3 separate regions of the Homo sapiens genome follow, and regions 2 and 3 are each linked to region 1. The links are contacts of gene promoters, found by promoter capture Hi-C in human tissues and cell types (Jung and others, 2019). All regions are on one chromosome and are shown on one strand. The core of a region is centred on a gene start or on the middle of the fragment in contact, and the rest is flanking DNA. Distances in the headings are between cores, read along the strand shown.

Region 1 (3,944 bases), core at 222-2,721:
GCTGGTACACCATCCACACTTGGAATAGCAGGACTCGGAGTACCATGGAAACATCCTCAAAGGATCATGTAAAATGTCAATTCCAATAGGGCAAGGACATTGTGTCTCCCTTATTCACCATGTACCCAGAACTTAAAACTGTGCCTCATAGACAGATCGCATTCAGTAAATATTTACTGACACAACAAATGTATGTATAATTTAGACCAGGGCTGTTCAACTGTAGCAAAGAACCACATTTAGCTATGGAACACTTGAAATGTGGCTACTGTGACCGAGGAGCTGAATTTTTAAAATTTAATTTTAATAGTCACATGTGGTTAGTGGCTCCCACGCTGGACAGTCCAGGTCTGGACACAGATGTGATGTAAAGAGGACTGGACTAACAAGGTCTAGGTTTGAATCCCAACTCTGCTGCTCAGATTGTGACCTGAAAAGTTGCAACTTCTTAGGGCCTTCACTATTTCATCTGTGAAATGACAAGACCTCCTAACTCTCAGCGTTCTTGACACGATTATAAAGCAATGTATTAAACATAAGATATGATCAAAGTGACATTCTCTGCCCTCCAGAAACAGTTCAGAAAGACTACTTTGCCTATTGCCCACTTGACCAAAAAAATGCCAAGTGAGTTTGGTAGACGGGTTGGTTAGCTCAGTGGCTTTGAGAATGAGGACAAGGTCACAAATCTGGGGAGTAAGGGAACCTCATCTAGCAAGGCTGACCAGATAAGAGAAGCAATGACAATGCAAATCATCCCAATTCCTGGTAAATGCTTAAATGGGCAACGTATTGATTATGGATGAGTAAATGACATCTCATTCATTCATTCTTCCAGGAAAAGCGGAAAAGCTACTACATTACCTAAAGCCCGCTACTTCCCAACCACAAACATTTGCTAATTTAGGTCCGGGTCCTCCTCGGGGGCAGCGGGCCGGGAAGCCCCCTCCCCCGCTGCCGGCGTGTCTTCCCCTCCCCCGTGGCGCCGCGAGGGTCAGGCTGGCACCGCGGTTGCAAGTACCACACGGCCGAACCCAGAAGCCATATTTAGCTTTATTTTTGTCAATAAAACAAACTTCCGTCTTCTAAAGAAAAACGGTTCTAACTCAATGTCAAACTAGGACGGAAACTCGCTGCTCGCCAAAGCTGCCAACCAGAGACGCCGCGTGTCCAACGGCACCGGGGTCCCAGACCCGAACCCGCGCCGAGCGTGCCCGCGCCCCGGCCCCAGGCAGCGCCGGCCACAAAGGGACCGGGGACGCGGCCGCGGCGGGGCCTCTTTCTCCACCTCCGACCCGCGCGCAGCGCTGCGGCTCCGGGACTGCCCAGCCGCGGGCGATACACTCACCTCGCTAGGCGCGCGGCGGCGGCGGCGGCAGGCGTCCTCCGGGCCGGCCGCGGCGGTCGCGGCCGGTCCCGCGGCCAGCGCGCTACTCTCGGGCCGCCGTCCGCCGCGCGCTCCTCGGCCACTGCCGGCGGCTCCCCCGGCGGGCGGGCGGGTCCGGCCGGGCCCCGCTCCGCCGCGCCCGCCCCCGCCTCCGCGCCCGGCTCGGGTCGGCGGCTACTCCGGGCGCCCCGCTCGCGGGCTCGGGCGGCGCTACTCCGGGCCGCCCCGCATGCGCGCCGCCTGCCCGCTCACTTGGGGCTCGTCGCGCGGCGGGCGCCGCAGGGCGCCCGCAGGCGCTCGGGCGCGGTCCTCCCTGCGCTGCGTGCTCGGCGGCAGCGGCGGCGGCGGCCCGTGCGGCTGCGCGGGGGAGGCGGGGGCGCCGGCGCTCACCCGGATGCGCGCCCCCTCCGCTGCGGCGAGCCCACCGCGGGGCCGCGACGCTCCCCTCGGGCTCGGGACTCCGGGGTCGGGCGCGGCGCCCCTCCCGGACCGACCGCCCAGTCCCGGCCCCCGCTCACACGGCTACGGGCAGGGCCGGGCCAGGCCGAGAGGTGCCCCCGACCCTGGGTCGGGACAAAGAGGCTGCCGCAGCAAGTTAAAGACAACTCGGGCTGTTGCGCGTCGAGCAGGTCACGGGGTGGGAGGAGATGGAGGAGCCCTCACAGCGGATCGGCTCCCGGGCCGAGCGCGGGGCCGCCCCAACCCGGTCGGCTGCCTGAGGCGGCCGCGAGCGCGGGAGCTGGAGCGCTGTCAGCCGCGCTGAGCCTGCGCCTGGCGACCGCGATGCAGGAGGCCCGGGACTGAGGGAGGACGGCGAGAGCGGAGGCCCGCGACCCGCACCGCCGGGGCAGGCACCCGGGTCTCGGGGGCAGCAACGCCGGGGCCCTTGCAGAACGGGGACTGTTTGGGGAAGTGGCTCCCGCACAGTGCCCGGAGAGGGGCCCTCCCTCTGTGCCCCCTTGGGAAACACTGCTTGGTACAATTCCAATACCCAGCTGTACCCTGCCCTGAAGATAGAAGACAAAACCCTGGCTCTGTCACTCACGCGAGGCATAACCAACCATTCTTTTAATAAATTAATTTTCTACTTAAATAATTCAGAGGTTTGTGTCTTATTGCTTGCCAACCAAGAGCTGCAATAAGAGATTACTTAATATTTAAGTGGTCCCACTTTTAAATTTATATTACCTCTCACATAACCAAAAGGCTGTCCGAAAAAAAAAAAAAAAAACCTGAAGATTATCTCTGGAATTTTAGTATCCTGTTTTTGCTTGTCTACATCTTCCAAGTATTCTAAAATAAAAGTTAAAAGTTACTATTTTAAAAGTACTTATATAATATTTTGAAACAAAGTCAATCATGACTAGCCTGTTACTGTTCCACAAGGAAACTTCACTTTGGAATAAAGTTGTCATCGTTAAAAAATACTCTTATCTTGGGAGAAAAGATTGGCAAATCATATATCTGTTAAAGGACTTGTAGCCAGAATGTATGAAGAACTCTTACAACTCAGTAATAAGACTAATAGTCCAATTTTAAATGGGCAAAACAATTGAATAGACGTTTTACCAAAGATATTTAAATGATCAACAATTACATAAAAAGGTGTTCAACATCATTAGTTAATAGGGAAATGCAAATTAGAAGCACAACAAGGAAGTTCTTGACACCCACTACACTGGCTGTAGTACAAAAGACAGACAGACAATAGCAGTGTTGGTGAAGAGATGGAGAAATTAGAACCCTCATACGTTGCCTATGGAAATGTAAAATGGTGCAGCCACTTTGGAAAACAGTTTTCCAGGTTTTTTAAAAAGTTACACATGAAGTATTCTATCACCCAACAATTCCACTCCTAGGCGTATGCCTGAGAGAACTGAAGATAAATTCATACAGTAACTTGTACATGAATATTAATAACAGTGTTATTCATGATAGCCAAGAAGTAGAAACAGTCCAAATGTCCAGAAACTGCTGCGTGGATAAAATGCAGTATATGCCATACAGTGGACTACTACTCAGTAAAAGGAACGAAGTAGTCATAGAAGATACAACATAGAGGAACCTCAAAAACGATAAGCTAAGTGGAAGAAGCTAGATGTGTAAGAGCCTGTATTGTAGGATCTATTTACAGCCATGCCCCGGTCAATGATGGGTCACCTGTACAATGGTGGTCCCATAAGATTATATGCAGCTGAAAAGTTACTATCACCAAGTGAGGTAGCCTTCATAATGTCGTTGGGCAATGGGTTACCTTTTCTGTGTTTAGATACACAAATACCATTGTGTTAACAATTGCCTGCGGTATTCAGTACAGTCCCATGCTGTACAGGTCTGTAGCCTAGGAGCAATAAGCTGTACCATGTAGCCTAGGTGTGTAGTAGGCTATACCATCTAGGTTTGTGAGTATACTGTATGATATTCTCACAATGACAGAATTGCCTAACAATGCATTTCCCAAAACATACCCCTGTCATTAAGTGACACATTGACTATGTAAGATATCTAGAAAAGGCAAATCGATACAGATAATCAGTGGTCTAGAGCTGGGGGTAGA
Region 2 (4,102 bases), core at 718-3,217, 560 kb after region 1:
CTGCCTTGCCCCTGTGGCCATAATTTTTTCTTACCCTTCCATTCTAGAGGTTGGATTTATTTCTCCTCCCTTTGAATCATGGTGGCAGCTTTGATCAATAGATTTTGGTAGAAATGATGCCGACCAGTTCTTGACCTAGACCTTACAATGACAGGCAGCTTTTGCCTTTGTCTCTTAAAGGTCAGCTGCCCTGTGAGAAGTTCAGCTACCCTGGGACTACCATGCTGCTCTGTAAGAAGGCAGGTCTGCTGCCCTGTGAGAAGTCTAGCTACTCTGGGGGAAGTACCAACCATGTAGAGAGGCCCAGAGGGTGGGACACATGGAGAGGGAGGGGAAGAGAGGAGAGACCACAAAGAGTACCAAGGCTCCAAATATGTGACTGAGGAAGCATCCTGCATCTTCACCCACCACAGCTGACACTATATGGATATATGGATTAGAAAGGACCCACCTAACCAAGACCTTCCTGAACTCCTGGTCCACAAAACCATAATGTAGGACAAATGGTTATTTTAAGTTAATAAGTTTTGTGGTAGGCTGTTATGCATTAACAGATAACAGAAAAACCCTGTTGGTTCTCTATTGTGACTCTAAACTTGGTGGATTAAAATAGCAATAATCATTTTATTATTATCTCTTGTCATTCTGGAGGTTGACTGGGCTTGGCTAGGTGGTTGTCACCCATGGTCTCTCATGTAGCTATGGTTGGAAGGTGACTGACTGCTGAAGTCTTCATAAAGGCTTCCTCAGTCTCATGACTGGTGGCTGACGTTGCCTTTTAATTGGGGCCTCAGCTGGGGCTCTGGTTGGAACACCTATGCAAGGCTTCCCCATGTGGCCTGGGCTCCTCACAGCATGGTGGCTGGGTTCCTAGCACAAGCATCCCTAATGAGCAGGCAGAAGGGCATGGCAGTTTTAAAACCTAGTCTTGGAAGTCACAGAGCATCACTTCCATTGTATTTTGCTGGTCAGGGCTGCCACAAAGTTCCACCCAGATTCAAGAGGAAGGGCTATCAACACCACTGGTAACATAACTAGGAGGAATGTCAATCTCACACTGCAAGAAAACCTGTGGGATGGGAGAGATTGTAGTAACCCACTTTGGAAAACCTGCCACACACACCTGCTGAACCTTCTTTACTCGCTGAGTTTTCAGCATGGGGCAGGAATGCAAGAGAGGAAGAAAAGAATGAATGTTCAACTTCGGAGTTTCAAAATCAACTTGTAAGCCCATGGCAGAGAAAAAACCCTGAAGAAATGTTTATGAGCCTCAGAGTCTCATTTTCAAGTATCAAAAGCTTAAGATCTTTCAAAGATTCAGAAACTAAAGTTCGTACTATAAGCCACAAGACTACATGACTGGTTAGAGATGTTGGGTTAGGAGCTGGTGAGTGTCCTTGAAGAGGGACTCTGCCTGCTCTCCTATCCCCAGCCATGCCCATGGGAATTTGAGAGTAGAGGGAACCTGTCCTCTGCTTTATATCTGGAAACTGAGGGATGCCAAAGCCACACAGAAGGTCCCTAGTCACCTTGGCACAGGAACAGCGGGGTACAGATGCAGGTAAACTGTTTAGGGCAACAGCAGTTTTTCCACAGAGCTAGCAAATATTTTTGGGGAGGGAGAAAGAACAAACCTGACCCCATGTGGTAGTGACAAACATCAACAGAAAAGAACAGGCCTCTGCAGACTGCGCCTGTTTTCATGGGGAGGGTTGCCATGGAAGCAACTAAAAAAAAAAAGTCAAATCTCCATTCAGGTTTCCAAAAGCACCTTGTAAAAATGTGAGACTGTGGTGTGGTGTCCATATTCATCGCTGCATTCTCTCACTTGCTGAATAAGCAGGTCAGAGGCATGCACAGAAATTAGGTTGCGGCCATTGGTTTAGACAATACACAGTACATTTAATGAGGAAGCTTCTCTCCTACTTGGCTCCCTCTCCAGATCTCCTGCTTGAGCTAAACTGATAGCCAGCACTTAGCTTTGAATCCTCAGAATGTTTTTCCCTCTCTACCCATCTGTCTGATTCAGACATCATACCTGTTCATTTCACAGGGGGACAGGTATGTCCTGCCCATTCCTCTCCCGCTGCTCACACCCTGCTTCAGACACGCTCCTTCCTCTCACCTACCTCATGAGTCTCTCTAGAGAGGTTTCCTTGCTTCACAATCAATTCACATCTCACCACCAGCTCTATCTTCCCTCCTTTCATTTTTAGAAGTCTTCAGGGGTTCCCTATCATTTCAAGACAAAAATTCTAAGTTTTTCTTTTGGCACTGTAAAACCTAACTACCTTTAGAAACTTATGCCCCACCGTGTATAGAAAGAGTAAGATTGAATTTGGTTTCGGCCTAACCTGGAATGTTAGTTTTGCCACCTGGTATCAGCATAAGCAAAGCTTCCTCTGTACTTGGTAAACAAAGAGAAGAACCTGTAAACATTCCTATTTGGAATCCTTCATAAATGCTCTTGGAAGAATCTATTACTACATCTGATTATTCCACTGGACTATGTTCAGTGGAACTGCTAGACTTCTAAGCTACTGTTTGAAAATAACTTCAGCTTGCTTTATTAAAAAACTACAGAGAGGACGGCAATTTAGTGAAATGAATTCTGATGATGTAAATGTTAACAGTATCCGAGTTGTTACCTCTGAGTCCCTGTCCTCCTAGGGTGAAGAGCACATAGAGTTGGGAACATTCAGCCACGACTGTCTCATCTTTATAACTGCTTTAATTACAATCGAGTACATCATTAAAGTCAGAATCACAATGTTTTAAGCTCATTAAAATATCAGCTAAAAAATTCATAGGGGATTATTGGCTGGAAGAAATGAAAAGTTATAGCATTGCTATTTCCTATTGATGGTTAGAACATGCAAAGATCCACAGAGGGTAAGTTTTGAGGCTGGATGACAAGCTCCAAAAAAAGTTTCTTTGGCCAGTCACTTACATTTGGACACAACAGGCTGAACAGCAGCTTCACATTCTGCACGCAAAACACTCAACTCTGGGTAAAGTAAATCATTCCACAAGTGGCCTCCTTCCACATTCACAGTACTTGAGAAGAGTTCCTGAAACTTGGACACAGTGCTGTGGAGCAGAGCCAAGAAACTTCACAGTGGTTATGAAACAGCTGCAAATCCATGCTTATGTCATGCTTTGTACAAATACTCTATAAAGGACACATTTGATCAAGAGTAGAAATATGGCTTTGCTAGTACTAATCAAGGTGAGAAGCTGGATTTCACTAAAAAGACTTCAGAATAACCCTCTAGTGTTTCCCAATTATATAATTCTAAAATTTATAGTTAACCTGTATTTTTTTATATTTTTCTCACTCACCCTCCAAGCAAATTCATCATTGTATTAATAGCTACTCACAACATGGAGAAAGAAAACAAGCAGCAACGAATTAAAGAATCAGTCCCCTCAGAGGTTAGCACTAGTTTATCTGACAAAAGAGAATGTCCTATAGCAATGAGAGATGTTGCCATCCTTAACATTGTCTATGATATAAAGGACAATACTAAATTTACTGAAAAGGTCTATTTCTAAATTCCCCTTGAATATCAGCCAGGCAAATGTAAGAACCAAATTTTTGCATGATTATAATTCTCTCCAAAATGGGAAATGAAGGTTAAATTAACTTTCAGATCCTGATCTGCAGATACTCGTAGTAAATTTTATTCATCTTCAGATTCTCTTCTTCATTTACTGAATAAAAGCAAGTTATATCGTTATCAATAGAACTGAAATAGGTTCATTTGCATAAAATGCTTTGTTCTACTTCATTCTGAAGAAAACAGCATTTATAGTCAAAAGGCTTTCAGCAACTATTGCAAAAGATACTTCATGAGTCAAGGATGCTGTCAGAGCATGAATAAAAGGGAGAGGGACACAGAGTTCATCATTTACAGAGGGGTTGGAGAAAATCTCTATTCCTCCTAGTTTCAAGTTAGGAGTTTAAAAACCTTTAGGAACGAGGACAAAGACCTGAAAGTTGCTAAAAATCCCAGCTCATGGTACCAGAACAAGATAGCTCCAGAACTCTGAGTGCTTCTAATGCAATAACACTTGGGCACTTTCCCCCTGCTACAAACCA
Region 3 (4,119 bases), core at 714-3,213, 720 kb before region 1:
GGGGCAGTGGAGGAGCATCAGGATTTTCTCCTACCAGACCAGGATCAAGACTGTGGGGCTGTTCCATGGAAACATGAAAACATACTGCAGCTCCCAGCTTGAAAGGTCAACCCATGTATATAAGGTTTGAAATCCAAGGAAACCACTTCAAGGTCACAGGGCCACAATTATGAGCCTTTGGTGGTTTCAACAAAAGATCACTGTAATCAGAGACCGTAGTGGCCTGAATAATCATGATGTAGAAGAAGCTCTTTGAAAACTTTTCACTGAATCAACTAATTGAGAAGAACCAAATAATTTACAAAAGTGATTCTGATCAGCTGAATCCAGAATACATCACTCTGGATGATGACGACCCTCTGTCTCCCAATCAAATGTGCTTTTGTGGCCAGAGAGGTTTCCACGACTGTATCCGTCCTGAACCAACCAGGAGAGAATGAGATGGAAATGCCCCATTCCTTATTCCTGAAAACGTTACTAACTAAGTAGAGGAGGAAAGCACTGATACATTAATAGAGAGGAAACTACCACTGCTAAAGTCCACCAGTTTCCTCACACAACCAACCTCCTCCTCTACTTGCAAAGCAGGTCAACATCATACAGAAATCCGAGGTTTTTTTTTAAATCAATTTTGTTCTTTTGGGCATCAACGCTTATCTCTTCCAAATATGTGTTAATGTCGACCCTCAAGAAATAAATCATCTCCAAGCTTTGATATGAATCCTAGGCAGAAAAAATACTGGGAAGGTAATTTTGCAAGCTGCATTCAATCTGTCTAAGTGAGAGTAAGGGTTTTCCTAGGTAACGAAATGATTAGCTTTCAATACCCACCTCTTTGCAACAAATGCTTTGCAAGAGGCCTATCCTCCTGCAAAAGGTTTTATTTAAATAAAAATAACAAATAAAAAAAAAAAAACCTCTCTAACGGGTAGACTGAGCAGCCATTCTTCCCAGGGGACACTCATTTCGGGCTGCCAAGCTGAGGCTTTGTGAGCGCGCCGCCCCTCCGCGCCCCCGCCCCTCCTCCCACAGCGACTGCTCCTCCGAGGTTCCCAAGGCCACCTGCTTCTCAGAAGAAAAGGGGGATACCCTGAGCGCTATCGCAGTGTGCGGCCGGCGTCCCCGGCGGCGCCCCCGGGGGAAGGAGGAGGCGGTGTCGCCGGGAAGCGTGCTTTGTCGCGAGGGTCGCGTGGCCGCCCGCAGCGGCCCCAGAGGCCTGAGGGAGGTTTTGTCCCGGCCGTCGCTCAGAGCTCTCCTCTCCAAGGGACCTGAGTCTCGCGGCGCTCCGCTTCTTCCCGCGCCCCGCTTGGTGCCCGCCCGAGTGCCGAGGCCGACTGCCCGCGTCCTAGCCCCACCCCGCCCACCCGGCCGAGCTAACGGCGCGGCTCGGGGGAGCCTTCTCCATCCCGCCTCGGACCGGCTCGGCACCTGCTCTGCCACGCCCGCCCCCGGCTCTAGCTGTTCCTTCCCGCCCGCCCCGGAGGGTCCTGCGCCAACCAGCGGGTGCCTCGAGCCCTTCTGTCTAACGGGGAGGGGGATTTGCCCTCGAGCGATGGTCCCCCCGGGCCGCGCCCAGCCCAGCCCAGGGGGCCCACGAAGCCCCGGGACCCACCCCGGCGCGCACCGCGGCAGGGGGCTGAGTCCAGGGGGCCCAGCCCACCCCGCCGGGTCGTACCTTGTGCGGCGCCTGCAGCAGCCTATGGACCCCCGCCAGCTGGGTGCCGAGCGCGAGGTCCTCGCGGAACGTGAACAGCGGCGGCCGGCTGGGCTCGGGGAAGTTGGTGCTGTTGAAAGGGTCCGTGTCGTCCAAGAACTGCACCCGGCAAGCCAGCGTGGCCATGATGCATCCCTGCCGCGGGGGCGCGGGCCCCGGGGTTAGCGGGGCCGCGGGCCGGGACGCCCGGGTAGCTGCGCGCAGGGGAGGCCGCAGCCGCAGCTCGCTGGCTCGCGGACTCGCAGGCTCAGGCGCGCCGGGCTGCAGCCCGGGCTCCGGCCGCGGGGGGCGGGGCGGGGGCGGGGCCGGCGGGCCCCCTCCTTCCCCTCTCCCTCCGGCTCCTCCCCTCCTCCGGGTCCTCTACCCCCGGCCGGGCTGCCCCGAACGACCGGACCGCAGCCGGGAAAGTGCAAAGGAGACGGCTCGCGCGGCATCCGCAGCCCTGCGCCAAAGGCCGGCGGCGGAGGCGGGGCGGGGAGGCCGGGCGGCCGGACTCTGCTGCACGTGCGCCCCGCGGCCCAGGGCCGAGCTGCACCCCTCGGAGCCTGGAGGACCGAGTTGGGGAGTTGGGGGGTTGGGGGACGGGGAGACAGGCGGCCTTCTGACTTCTTCCCCACCCGGAGAAGGCTTAAGCCTTTCCAGATGAAGGCGGCGGCGGCCGGCTTCTGCTGCCCAGATTTGGAATACCCCGGCAGGGCACCAGGTGGCCAGGGAGCCGGCTTCGGCAGCAAGAGGGGTGGTGGCAGTGACCGGGAGCCCCACCTAAGGGTACGGGGAGGTTTCCCTTAGGGACAAAGAAGCTAAGAAAGAGGAGGGTGCGCCAGGGAACCCAGGCCGCTTTTAGGGCACAAGCCTAGAGTCGAGAGGCGTGGGGGCTGCGAGGCTTCGCTGCGGGACTCCAGCGCCGGGCCTGGACCCCGGGGCTCCCGGCGGATGCTGGTTAAACCTCTGCATCACCACGGCCTCTCCCCAGTTAGGCCGCCGAAAGCCCTAATTGGACCTTGTGGGGCCGCGGGGGCTTGGGGAGGTGGGAGCCCTTCTGGCAAGGTTCCCGAATTGCAGAGAGCCGGGGATGCCCTGGTAACCGAGGGACTGGGAAGGAAGGTTTGCGTCCTGCCCGCCCCTGCCAGGCGGGAGCGGCAAGACTCGGCGCTGCCTCCCACCGCTCTCCTCGCTGCTCACGGGCGACCCCCTTCGTTTTCAAGAAAAATTCACGGTTCTCCCTATTCCCAGGCCACAGCCAAGTTCCTGGTTCCTCCCCCCTTATATAGATCGCCCTCATAACACCCAGTCTCTCTTAACATCCGAGTGTTTTCAAGGCGACTCTATAACGCGTCTATCTCCCTTTCCTCTGGTTTCAAGGGAAAAGAAACCCTTATCCCTATTTAGCAGCCTCACCCACATCTTTAACCTCTCCCTCTCCGTGATCTCCCTCCCTGCCACACATACACACTTATGCCTGATCTTAAAATAATAATTCCACGACACTTCCGCTCCTTCCAGACGAACTTCTAGCTCTACTTTCTTTGTTATTTAACTCTTTGAATGAATCCTCTAGATTAGCCGTCCCCAATCTTTTTGGCACCAGGGACCGGTTTTGTGGAAGACGATTTTTCCACGGACAGTGGTGGGGTGGGGGTGGGGGGCGTTTGGGGGAGGAAGGGCAGATGGTTTCAGAATGAAACTGTTCCACCTCAGATCATCAAGAATTAGATTCTCATACGAGCGCGCTACCTAGATCCCTCGCATGCGCAGTTCAGAATAGGGCTCTCTCTGGCATGAGAATCTAATGCCTCCGCTGATCTGACAGGAGGCGGAGCTCAGGCGGTAATGCTCGCTCACTGGCCGCTCACCTGCTGTGTGGCCCGGTTCCTAACAGGCTACGGACCAGTACCGGTCTGCGGCCGCGGGGTTAGGGACCCCTGATCTAGACTGGATCTCCACCAACTTCCGCATCTCCTCACAGCCAGAATACTAAACGCACGAATTCTTCCCCTCTGAGATGGGCCGCCTGCACTTCCACCTTCACGTCCACCTCCCTCCTCACTGAGAGAGCCCTCCAGTCCTGGCCACCTCATTTCCTATCACTTTTCCAACCCGGATCCCAGCCCATCCTCTCAGGGGCCTCCTCTCCACACCCCTCCTTCAGTCCCACCTGTCCTTTGGGTACCTGGCTTGCTTCTGCCCCATCTACCAAGTGCCTGCTGCTAGTGGGACCACTCAGTGCCCCACTTCCACCCCAAAGCCCCTCAGCCTCTTACTCCACTGATGCTGCTGCAAGCTTCTGCCCCTTTCCTCGACTCAGAAATTAGTCAATAAGGTAAATAATTTCTCCAGAATGACTTCTAGCACCCTCTCCTCTTCATCTTTCATCTTATTTTCCATCTCCTCTCCATCTTCCATCT

Evidence for each region. Contacts are between HindIII fragments. The study calls those that stand out against the background at their distance.
Region 2: a contact is called between a fragment that was not itself captured here and the fragment with the promoter of GALNT1 in region 1, in 1 of the 25 tissues and cell types used here (hippocampus).
Region 3: the fragment with the promoter of FHOD3 here is called in contact with the fragment with the promoter of GALNT1 in region 1 in 1 of the 25 tissues and cell types used here (mesenchymal stem cells).

Annotation. Positions count from the first base shown.
Region 1 is chr18:35,579,267-35,583,210 of GRCh38, reverse strand. GALNT1 (polypeptide N-acetylgalactosaminyltransferase 1) reads right to left here and starts at 1,471. Exons shown (of 12, transcript NM_020474.4): 1 at 1,349-1,471. RefSeq lists a silencer at 1,730-2,429. The HindIII fragment of the contact is 13,517 bases long and covers 1-3,944 here.
Region 2 is chr18:35,024,147-35,028,248 of GRCh38, reverse strand. It overlaps a transcript of MAPRE2 not described here. Among named protein-coding and RNA genes, the nearest start is that of MAPRE2, 15 kb to the left of the region's middle. The HindIII fragment of the contact is 4,027 bases long and covers 1-3,980 here.
Region 3 is chr18:36,295,557-36,299,675 of GRCh38, reverse strand. FHOD3 (formin homology 2 domain containing 3) reads right to left here and starts at 1,963. Exons shown (of 29, transcript NM_001281740.3): 1 at 1,676-1,963. The coding sequence starts at 1,840. RefSeq lists silencers at 1,721-1,790, 1,911-2,200 and an enhancer at 2,140-3,117. The HindIII fragment of the contact is 5,975 bases long and covers 1-4,119 here.